Regions from separate parts of the Homo sapiens genome. Here all the other regions are linked to region 1. The links are contacts of gene promoters, found by promoter capture Hi-C in blood cells and fetal thymus (Javierre and others, 2016). All regions are on one chromosome and are shown on one strand. Each heading gives the region's core, a stretch centred on a gene start or on the middle of the fragment in contact. The rest is flanking DNA. Distances are from core to core; before and after follow the strand shown.

What was found. Contacts are between HindIII fragments. The CHiCAGO score rates a contact against its expected background, and 5 or more counts as called.
Region 2: a fragment that was not itself captured here is called in contact with the fragment with the promoter of GBP4 in region 1 in 12 of 17 cell types (activated CD4 T cells, non-activated CD4 T cells, naive CD4 T cells and 9 more); the score reaches 26.8 in activated CD4 T cells.
Region 3: a contact is called between a fragment that was not itself captured here and the fragment with the promoter of GBP4 in region 1, in 6 of 17 cell types (activated CD4 T cells, non-activated CD4 T cells, naive CD8 T cells and 3 more). The highest score is 10.8, in activated CD4 T cells.
Region 4: a fragment that was not itself captured here is called in contact with the fragment with the promoter of GBP4 in region 1 in 2 of 17 cell types (activated CD4 T cells and naive B cells); the score reaches 7.4 in activated CD4 T cells.

The regions. Positions count from the first base shown.
Region 1 is chr1:89,197,582-89,200,276 of GRCh38, reverse strand. GBP4 (guanylate binding protein 4) reads left to right here and starts at 1,335. Exons shown (of 11, transcript NM_052941.5): 1 at 1,335-1,482. The coding sequence starts at 1,443. It overlaps LOC107985076 (a long non-coding RNA gene), which reads right to left and starts at 1,930. Exons shown (of 3, transcript XR_002958332.2): 1 at 1,869-1,930; 2 at 1,219-1,774. RefSeq lists a silencer at 1,237-1,531. The HindIII fragment of the contact is 3,654 bases long and covers 1-1,501 here.
Region 2 is chr1:89,358,896-89,361,590 of GRCh38, reverse strand. No RefSeq gene overlaps it. Among named protein-coding and RNA genes, the nearest start is that of GBP6, 3.8 kb to the left of the region's middle. The HindIII fragment of the contact is 3,000 bases long and covers 1-2,695 here.
Region 3 is chr1:89,338,235-89,340,929 of GRCh38, reverse strand. No RefSeq gene overlaps it. Among named protein-coding and RNA genes, the nearest start is that of GBP6, 24 kb to the left of the region's middle. The HindIII fragment of the contact is 530 bases long and covers 1,092-1,621 here.
Region 4 is chr1:89,052,903-89,055,597 of GRCh38, reverse strand. GBP1 (guanylate binding protein 1) reads left to right here. Exons shown (of 11, transcript NM_002053.3): 9 at 383-485; 10 at 723-916; 11 at 2,130-2,695. The coding sequence ends at 2,243. All of the region lies in intron 2 of LOC105378841 (a long non-coding RNA gene), which reads right to left. Among named protein-coding and RNA genes, the nearest start is that of GBP1, 11 kb to the left of the region's middle. The HindIII fragment of the contact is 3,413 bases long and covers 1-2,695 here.

The DNA of each region.
Region 1 (2,695 bases), core at 86-2,585:
TTTTTTGAGACAGTATCTCACTCTGTTGCCCAGGTTGGAGTGCAGTGGGACCACCATGGCTCATTGCAGCCTTGACCTCCTGGGCTCAGGTCATCCTCCCACCTCAGACTCCCAGGTAACTAGGACTATTATAACAGGCACATGCCATTATGCCCAGCTAATTTATTATTATTATTATTTGTAGAGATGGGGTTTCCCCATATTGCCCAGGCTGGTTTCCAATTCCTGGACTCAAGTGATCTGCCCACCTTGGCCTCCCAAAATGGTTGGATTGCAGGAGTGAGCCACCACACCCAGCCTAAATTTCTTCTTGATTAACATTTCCATGATTATCTGAAGTCAGTAACATTGGATTATCTGGAAAGGGGTGCCACTGGTGAAATTCAGGTGTTTCAAACACATTTACCTGGATTCAGTCATCCCTGTACTTTTTCTTCTTCTTCTTTTTTTTTTTTTTTAAGAGAGAGGGACTTCCTGACATTAAAAAATGGTAAGAGAAAAAAGCACCTGATTTCTTATTACTGGTCCTATTTAAAACTTGACTTAGCTTTATTTTCACTTTCAATATTGCTTATAGGAAATAAATGTTAAGTTTTGAATCAAAATCGGCACCAGTAATTTTACCTGATTAAGTGCCTAAAATTTTGTACTTATTAATTTGCAAATGTTTAATCAGACATTACTAAACAAATAGGAAGATCTAAGGGATAGGCACAAATGGGGAATCATTACCCATTTATTTCAGATAGATTTCCCAAACTCTGTTAACAAACTGGCTAGTCATTTTAGGAACTGAGTCCATTTTTCTGGTAGCCTGGGTAAGACTCCTAATTATAAATTATGCTTTTTATGGTCCAATCATCCTCCTGTCCTCCAAAAGATCCAGTTTCAATGAGATGTTTGTGTTTTGAAAGAGAAGTATTTACTTGCCACCACCGCACCTCTGGGCAACAACGTTAGAGGATACATAGATATCCATAGACACACACACAAACACACACATATTTTATGGTTAATGAAAAAATAAAGAAAAGAGATGAGAAACAGAAACATATAAGCATGTAAAAAAAAATAAAAGCAAACAAAAACTCAAATTTCTTCCCTGACAAAATTACCCCTGAGAGACAGGTAGATGAAACAACATTCATGTCTGCTGCTCTATATTCATTTTGGAGGCGAAAGATACCTAAGCTAAGGGTGGAAGAGGGACAAACAAACCTGAGTTTCAGGAGTCTGGTGTGGAGGAACCAGCACTTTCAAGCTCCTTTAGTTTCCTGTCTTGATAAACAGGAAAATCCCCAACAGTCAACTCCCCACAAAGTGCATGTCCTTTCAATTTCGGTTCTCACAGACTCTTACTTGGATGTCTGTAAATCCGGCTGGACTTTCAGCTTCTAAGAACAGTCCGTTTCTCGAGGATCCAGGCGCAGGAGGACAGAGCAATGGGTGAGAGAACTCTTCACGCTGCAGTGCCCACACCAGGTAAGTTTGCTCTTAAGCTTTACCTTTCAAGTATATTTGGGTTATAACAAACAACAACAAATTCCCAAGCGCAGACTGCACACGGGGAGGGTTGGAGACTTCACACTGGCGGGTGACAAAGGCAGTGGAGGAACCTCGCGGGGAAGTCTGATGCTGCTTGAACCCCTGAGTGCTTTGCTCCGTGTGGCCCAGCGTCTCTAGACGGTCCACAGGCGGCGACCAGAGGCGCACCGGTGTCTCCAGGATGCGCTGCTCCTCCTCGGGCTTCCTCCCAGAGCTGTGGCATTTTCTCCTGCGAAATACCATCATCTAGTATACATATACACATTTTTTGCTTGTTTGTTTTATTAATTTTCTGTCCCCCACTAGAATATGTGATACCCTACCTTGTTTTAACCTGAGTTGACTCTCCCTTAGCTGAAAGAGCCAGACAGTCTGCATCTCGGCTCCTTCACTTGCAGCCCCTTACCCACCCGCTTCCTCAGGGACTTAACTTGTGCAAGCTGACTCCCAGCACATCCAAGAATGCAATTAACTGATAAGGTACTGTGGCAAGCCATACCCGCAGTTCCCAGGAATTCGCCCGGTTAACAGCACCCAGAGCCCCCCGCGTTTGTGTCTGGTTGATAAAGCCCAAAGCCCCGCTTCTATCACCTTGTGATAGAATTAAAGCCCCTGCACCTAGTACTGTTTACTTTCCTGTAACCATTTATCCTTTTAACTTTTTGCCTACTTTACTTCTGTAGGATTGTTTTAACTAGACCCCTCCCCCCAACCTCTCCTTTCTAAACCAAAGTATAGAAGAAAATCTAGCCCCTTCTTCGGGCCGAGAGAATTTTGAGCACTAGCCGTCTCTCGGTCGCCGGCTAATAAAGGACTCCTGAATTCGTCTCAGAGTGTGGCGTTTCTCTGTAACTCGCTGGGTTACAACAAATAGAGCTCCAAGAGGCAGAAGTTTGTATCAATTATGTTCCTTGCTTGTTGCTGAGAATCTAGAACGGTGTTAATTAGCACATGGTAGGTACGCAATACTCTTTATTAAATTAATGAGAGAGCAAATTCTTCTGGAATGCCTGGAGCCTTTTCTAACCACTCCTCATCTCCTTTTTGTAACATCCTGCCCCTATTTATTCCAGGAGTGGAATTATTCTGCCATCAGTGCCTTGATTTTCTAATTCTGTTTATTTTATGCATCACCTTGACAAGGCATTTT
Region 2 (2,695 bases), core at 76-2,575, 160 kb before region 1:
GTAATTAAGACAGTATGGAACTGGCATAAAAATAGACACATAGATGAATGAAACAGAATAGAGAGCTCAGAAATAAAATACAATATTTTGAAAATATATTGAAAAGGTTCTCAACATTACTAATAATCAGAGAAATGCAAATCAAAACAATAGTGATATATCACCTCCTACCTGTTAGGATGGCTATTACAAAAAAATAGATGAGCATTGATAAGGATATAGAGAAACCGGAATCCTTTTACACTGTTGAGAATGTGAAATGGTGAGGCAACGCTGCAAAACAGTATGGAGGTTTCCCAAAAAATTACCTACTACATGATCCAGCAATACCACTACTAGGAATATATTCAAAAGAATAAAAATCAGAATCTTAAAGAAATATCTGCACTCCCATGTTCACTGTAGCATTATTCACAATGGCCAAGATATGAGAAAACACAAATGTCCATCAACAGATAAATAGATAAAGAAAATTTGGTGTATGTGTGTGTGTGTCTGTGAGAGAGAGAGAATTATTCAACTTTAAAAAACAAGTGTGTTCTGTCATTTGAAACAACATGGATAAACCTGAAGGACATTATGCTAAAAAAATAAAGCCAGTTACAGAGGACAAAAATTGCATGACCTCACTTATATGTGGAATCTAAAATAGACTCATAAAAGCAGAGAATAGAATGCTGATTGCCAAGAGTTCGGGGGGAGGGAAATGGGGAGTATATTCAATGGGTATAAGGTTTCAGTCATAAAGATAAGTAAATTCTAGAGATCCACTGTACAACATAAGAACCATAGGGCATAGCTATAGTTAAAAATACTGTATTATACACTTGAAAATGTGCTAAGAGGCTAGATCCATGTTACATGCTGTTACAAAACATAAGCAAATAGCAACAGCAACAACAAACAGGCATGAGGAAACTTGGAGGGGATGGGTATATCTATTACCTTGATTGTGGTGACAATTTTTTAAGTGTATGCAACTCATTAAATTATATATAATAAATTAATGCATTTAAAATATGTCAGTTATACCTCAGTGAAACTGTTTATAAAATAAATAGATAAATAAATATTCTTGTTTGCAGGTAGGGGAAATTGATAATTGAAATAAAAACCTTAACTTGCAAAACTGTTCTGCGGTTCACAAAACAAATAAACTGCACCAAATCATAGCATGCAAAACAAATTGGCCAAGCTCAAACTTTTTTTAACACCAGCTCATTCAGCTACATAGCTTCTTGAAGAGCAGACAGGTCTACTGATCTAACAACTCATCAGGAACCCATGATTTCTAAAGGTGAAACTCCTGACTGTGGCAGTAACTCACTTAGTTTATAAATTCTGACCAGTTCCTGCCAAGATCATCCTATTTTAACCCCAAACCCCTGTATCCTTTCTACCTCCCCACTTTTGGATGCCCTATGGTTCTCTATGGTTGCATTCTTCCTTGCTGCAGCAGGAAAAAACATCTAAATTTTTCCTCATGTATTTTGGTTTTTATATGTTTAAAATACAAATAGAAAAATAAAAGAAGAAGAAACCTTATAAATTTGAGTTGAAAAATAAAATTACATCTATATCTATGTGGGTATAGATATAGATATTGGTTTAGACCACTAAAAGATTCTTGAAGAAATAGCACTCTAATATTAATGAGTAAATCCAGCATCTATATTTTTGTTTGCAAATAATTTTTACCCACTTTAAGAAAAAGAAAACAAAGCAGTGCTCCTTGGAGAAATCTCAGGTTCCAGGAATAGGGAGAAAACACAAGGTGTGGCTGTGACATATTCCTGTGACAAGAAGCAAAAGCGCACTCAGAGATTAACAGGATCACATGAAAAAGGGACAGAAGCTAGCTTACAGACACTCGCTGCAGACAAATTCCGGACAATGGGAACATCACAAAGAATCATGACTATCAGTGATTATAATCACATAACCTGAGCAAGGTTCTAGATCCAGTTGCCAGTCTATGGCCAACAGAGGAGAAAGAAAAACAAGGCAAACTACACCATGTGGAAATAGGGAAGCAGATCCTGAGGGACATAAAAAAAACTGGTCTGCATTTTTGAGACCATCAATGTGACTTGAAAATGAATAATAATTTTTTAAACTAGCTTTCTGGATTGAATTCTAATAGATATGCAAATACAAAGTATAAACCTTGTTTTTATCCTGGTTCAAAACTATTAATATGTGTAAACCAAGTACCTACAAAAGTATCTTTAAAGACAAAAGGGAAATTTAAATATGGGCAGATTATTAAGTTATATTAGAGAATTATTATTATTACTAACTTTCCTAGGTATGCCAATAGCAATGTGTTTATTTAGGAAAATATACTCATCCTAAGAAGATGCATGCTGAAATATTTAATAATGAAGTATGACAAAGTCTTCAAATTACTTTTAAATGGTTCATCATAGAAAGTGTGCAGAGACAGAATAAGTTTGCCAAAATATTAACACATTTTTAATCCTGATCAAAGTTATGTGGGTGTTCATCGCTCTATTCTTTTTACTGTACTGTATGTTTAAAATATTTCTATTTACAATGTTGAAAGGGAGAAAAGAATTGTCCTACTGCACAAAGACATTCTTGCCGTGTTAAAAACATTTAAGAGGGGACCTGGCATGGTGTCTCACACCTGGAGGAAAAATAAAGCAACAGCAGAAAGGGCCCACAGGAACTC
Region 3 (2,695 bases), core at 107-2,606, 140 kb before region 1:
GTTTGAGGAGGCCCTGCATCTTCAAGTTATTGATAGTGGCTTCTAGTCCTTTCCTAACCTCTGGTTTCAGGGGATATTGTTTCTCGTTAGGAAAGGAGGTGGGATTCTTAAGGTGGACCTGGACCAGTATGGTGGTTGTAGCTTAGCCAATCTTCCCTCAAGTTGCCCAAACTTCTGGGTTAATATTGGTTTGTACTATGGGGAGACAAAGAGTTTTCCCAGGGGCCATGAGGATGGTGGTCCCCATATGGGCCAGAATATCTCTTCTCAACAAAGGAGCTGGGCTTTCAGGCATAATTAGAAAAGCATGGGTGAACAAAAGGTCTCTCCAACTACAATTAAGTGGTTGGGAAAAATATCGGGTTAAAGGCTTTCCTGAGACACCCGTCATGGTCATGTTAAGAGAGAAGAGGGGGCCCAGATTAGAGAGGAGAAGCGAGAGACCAGCCCTGGTGTTCCAAAAGGAGGTCCAATTTCCTCCTTTCCATTTCTAGAATTCACCCAGGGTCCCTGGATGGTAATGGAGGTCTGGACCACTGGAGGTGGGGAGAGGAGCCCAGGGTCCCACCAGTCTTGCTGCTGGACCATTTGGGTGATTGGTTCTGGACCCAGTGACCAACATCCCTGGGGACAGTCCACCTTCCAGTTTCCCCCGATGCAGACTGGACAGGCTTGAGGTGGCTTCCTCATGCTGCCTGGGTAATCCTTGAAATGTCCTGGCTTTCTATATCTGTAGCAGTTAACAGGTGCACCCTGGGAATTATGGGGTTTCAGGGCTTTCGTGGTGGCCATTAAAGCCTCTGTCTCTTTCCTGTATTACCTCTCTCTCTGCTGGGCCTCCCTGTCTCTATTAAAAAAACATAGGTGGTCACTTTCAGGAGGTTCTCTAAATTCTATCTGGTCCCAGGGTCTGTTTCTGAAACTTCCTCCTGATATCGGGGAATGCCTGGGTAATAAATTTATCCTTCAAGATAAGTTGTCCTTCGGCCGAATCAGGAGATAGAAAGGTGTGCTTAGCATTTTTAGGAAGGCAGTGGGATTCTTATCAAATTCCTGGTCTATCATGCAGAACTTGGTATAATTGAAAAGCTTGGTCCTAGCCCTACATCAGCCCTCCATTATGCAGGCCTGAAAGTGCCTCCTCTTCCAGTCTCCCATCTCATCATTGGGATCCCATCCAGGGTCATCCACTGGTACTGCTTCTCTTCAGTTGAATAAAGTTTGCCGCCTTCCCTGATGCTATCCCCAAATCTCTCTGCTGCTTCTCTTCTCTCTGAGAAGCAGAGAGCACCCTGCTTCTCAGTATCTGTCAGGCTTTGGTTCAAAAGTAATAACGTCTTTCCAGGACAGTTCAAATACTTGGGTGAAATTCTGGAAAGCCTTTATGTATCTGTCAGGGTCATCTGAAAATTTGCCAAGATTCCCCTTCATTTGCCTTAAGTCCTGTAGAGACAAGGGGACTTGGACCTTACTGAGGCCGTATTCACTAGGCATCTGTTGTAGGGGCAGGAGTGAGACTGGGGCCTGTCTAGAGTGAGGATTTCTAGGAGGGGGCAAACAAGAGAGAGAAACTGGAGGGGGACGATGGGGTGGACCCAGAGGAGCAGGGCCAGAGAAAGCTTGTTCCCCTGCTAGACATGCCTCTGGGGTTTGTTCCTTTAGTTCCCTGGGATTGTCCCTTGGCAGCCTCTCCTGAGATGACAAACAGGAGGGCTGGATCAATCCTGCAATGTTGGCAAAGGTCCGAATTATACTGTAAGGTGAAGAAAGCCTGCACATAGAAAGCCTCAGACCATTTGCCCTTATGTTTACAGAAAAAATCCAGCTGCAGGATGGTGTCGAAATGAACGGCTCCTTCCTGAGACCAAGCCAGTCCATCCTGCAAATCAAAATTTTGCCAAACTTTTGTGCAAAGGACCATGAGGTATTTTTTCTCCAGAGTCTGAGGGTCAAAGCAGTCCCAATGATTCAGGATACACTTCAGAGGAGTATAGACTGATGATAGCTAGTTACCCATCTGAAAGAGAGAAAAATAAGCATTCCTTAATTCCTTTCTCTCTTTCAGCAAAAGCTCAGGGTGTGTGAGGGAGAGAGAGAAGAATGTCCCCTTTTCTCTTCCATCTTTTCATCCCCAAGTCCTGGTGACACAGACCTGGTGTGACCTGCACCCATGAAGCAGGGGGCCTAGAAGGCAGGAGTTATTTGCATTTACCTACACTGTCTATCCCCCTGGCTGTTGATAACCTTTGAGTTTCCTGGACCTCATTTATGCCATGGATACTAGCATGACCTCTATCCATGAAACAGGGGCTTAATTGGCAGGATTAGTTTTGCCCACCTAAGTTGTGCACGTATCTTCCATTGTTACCTGCTTTTGAATCCCTCGGACCTAGTTTTTGAATCCCTCAGACCTAGGACTTCAACCTGAAGCTTGGAATTGAATTTGGGACAAAAAGTTGTCTCAGGGGAGTGCATGGATTCCTTTAGATTAAGTCCCAGATGGCCCTTGCCAAATTTGCAGCCAGCCGCTGGTGGGATCACCCCTCTGTTTCATCCCTATGGTAAGCAGAGTGTTAAGGTAGGAAAAAGAAAACCCTCTCACATAGAAAAATTCCCTGTATTTGCAGGGCTATGACTTCCTGACATGGTGGAGAAAAGGAAAAATGAGACGGCTTAAGCATAAGTGTTGGCAGAG
Region 4 (2,695 bases), core at 112-2,611, 140 kb after region 1:
ACAGTTTTCTCCCTCCCACCATCCCTCTATCTGAGTCACTCTGATATTTGCTTTCTCAATGATGGCTTCATTCCCCAGCAGGCTCAGCCCATATGGGACCACAGCATTAACAGTTCCAAACTTAGAGCCCTTAATCTAAACAGGACAGAGACTCTCCTTTTCCCAGTATCTATATTAGCCTACTAAAAATGACTGCTAAGTAGGATGTTCTGATCGGCTTGCCAGGAGCATGTGTCTGTCGCTCCGACAGGGAATTTGACCACCAAGGACAATAGGGCCAAGAGAAAGAATTCCCAGAGGAGAAAGGATGGCAGGAAGACAAACAGGAACACCTGCTTACAGCCATTTCCTACTTCTCACTCTGTGTTCTCTGGGTCCTAAGGCTGAAGAGATTCTGCAGACATACTTGAAATCCAAGGAGTCTATGACTGATGCAATTCTCCAGACAGACCAGACTCTCACAGAAAAAGAAAAGGAGATTGAAGGTGAGGAGTGAGTTAAGAGATTAGATGGCCTCAAAAGCTCCAAAAATTGAAATAACTTGACTGGATAAACATGGGACCCTTTAACTAGAGCAAGATCCACAAAGGTGTGTCTTACTTGCCGAGGTCATCTCTGAGTAGGGCATATGCAGTCAGCAACAACGACAGGTAAGTGTATAAGGAAGAATGAGGCAACAAGATAACCCCACACAAATTTTTCTTCTGCCTTTTCCTCCTCAGTGGAACGTGTGAAAGCTGAGTCTGCACAGGCTTCAGCAAAAATGTTGCAGGAAATGCAAAGAAAGAATGAGCAGATGATGGAACAGAAGGAGAGGAGTTATCAGGAACACTTGAAACAACTGACTGAGAAGATGGAGAACGACAGGGTCCAGTTGCTGAAAGAGCAAGAGAGGACCCTCGCTCTTAAACTTCAGGTATCTAATTGCATCACCTTGAGGTTTCTGTTTTTCTGTTTTCTCTCCATTCTCCCTGATCGCAAACTTAGTGTGGCAGAGAGAACATGAAGCCCAGGGTAAGGACCCTGCTTGCTTACTTGTACTTTTCAATTCCTGTCTGTCCAGCCTGACTGGCTACTGCCAAGTCTGGTCACTGAAAGTTTTTTATTTGCAGTTGTGTAACATTCAGTCCTTTATCAATATATCCTTCATTTCAAGGAAGCTATTATCTGCTAGGCATCATTAAAATATCTGTATCTCGGTGGGGCATTGTGGCTCACGCCTGTAATCCCAGCACTCTGGGAGGCCAAGGCGGGCGGATCACGAGGTCAGGAGATTGAGGCCATCCTGGCTAACACGGTGAAATCCCGTCACTACTAAAAATACAAAAAATTTAGCTAGATGTGGTGGCGGGCACCTGTAGTCCCAGCTACTCAGGAAGCTGAGGCAGGAGAATGGAGTGAACCCAGGAGGCAGAGCTTGCAGTGAGCTGAGATCGCACCACTGCACTCCAGCCTGGGCAACAGAGCGAGACTCCAAAAAAAAAAATCTGTATCTCTTGCTTAATAACATATGTAGCAAGAACTATATCCTTATTACTTAGAAGAAGAAACAAAGGTTCCAAAAAGAATAAATAATTAAGTTCACACAGCTAGTAAATATATCAGAGCTGTCTTCATCACTTAGCGGAATCCACAATGATTATTTGTTTCTGTGACACCTACTATGAAATTAGATTTAAGAAACCTTTATGAGCAGAAAGGCTCCTAACCCTCACACCTGTGTGATACTCTGCTAATTCTGATTATTTTTAATGTCCTGCTCCCAGTTTGTTTTGAGTTGTGAGCTATGTGCAGAAACTCAGTATGGTCAGTCTGGCACTCAGATTTCTTACCTGTCTTCTGCTACCCCTGACACCAAGGTGTGGCAGCTTAGACCAAATTTCCTAATCCATGATTCATACACCTTATGAGATTTTGAGGATACTTTGCTTATTTCGGTGTTATGTCATATACATAATAGGGTAAGGAACATGGCTGTGCTTTGGTCAATGATAGGCCAAAGTATGACATTTACGTCTTGCGTGACTCAGAGAAAATTAAATAACAAATCATTTAATGTGGAAACCAGATAGAATGTTTCAATTTGCCTGATGCTACACTTTACTCAGCCTTCGTTTGTCCCTTTTTAGGAACAGGAGCAACTACTAAAAGAGGGATTTCAAAAAGAAAGCAGAATAATGAAAAATGAGATACAGGATCTCCAGACGAAAATGAGACGACGAAAGGCATGTACCATAAGCTAAAGACCAGAGCCTTCCTGTCACCCCTAACCAAGGCATAATTGAAACAATTTTAGAATTTGGAACAAGCGTCACTACATTTGATAATAATTAGATCTTGCATCATAACACCAAAAGTTTATAAAGGCATGTGGTACAATGATCAAAATCATGTTTTTTCTTAAAAAAAAAAAAAGACTGTAAATTGTGCAACAAAGATGCATTTACCTCTGTATCAACTCAGGAAATCTCATAAGCTGGTACCACTCAGGAGAAGTTTATTCTTCCAGATGACCAGCAGTAGACAAATGGATACTGAGCAGAGTCTTAGGTAAAAGTCTTGGGAAATATTTGGGCATTGGTCTGGCCAAGTCTACAATGTCCCAATATCAAGGACAACCACCCTAGCTTCTTAGTGAAGACAATGTACAGTTATCCGTTAGATCAAGACTACACGGTCTATGAGCAATAATGTG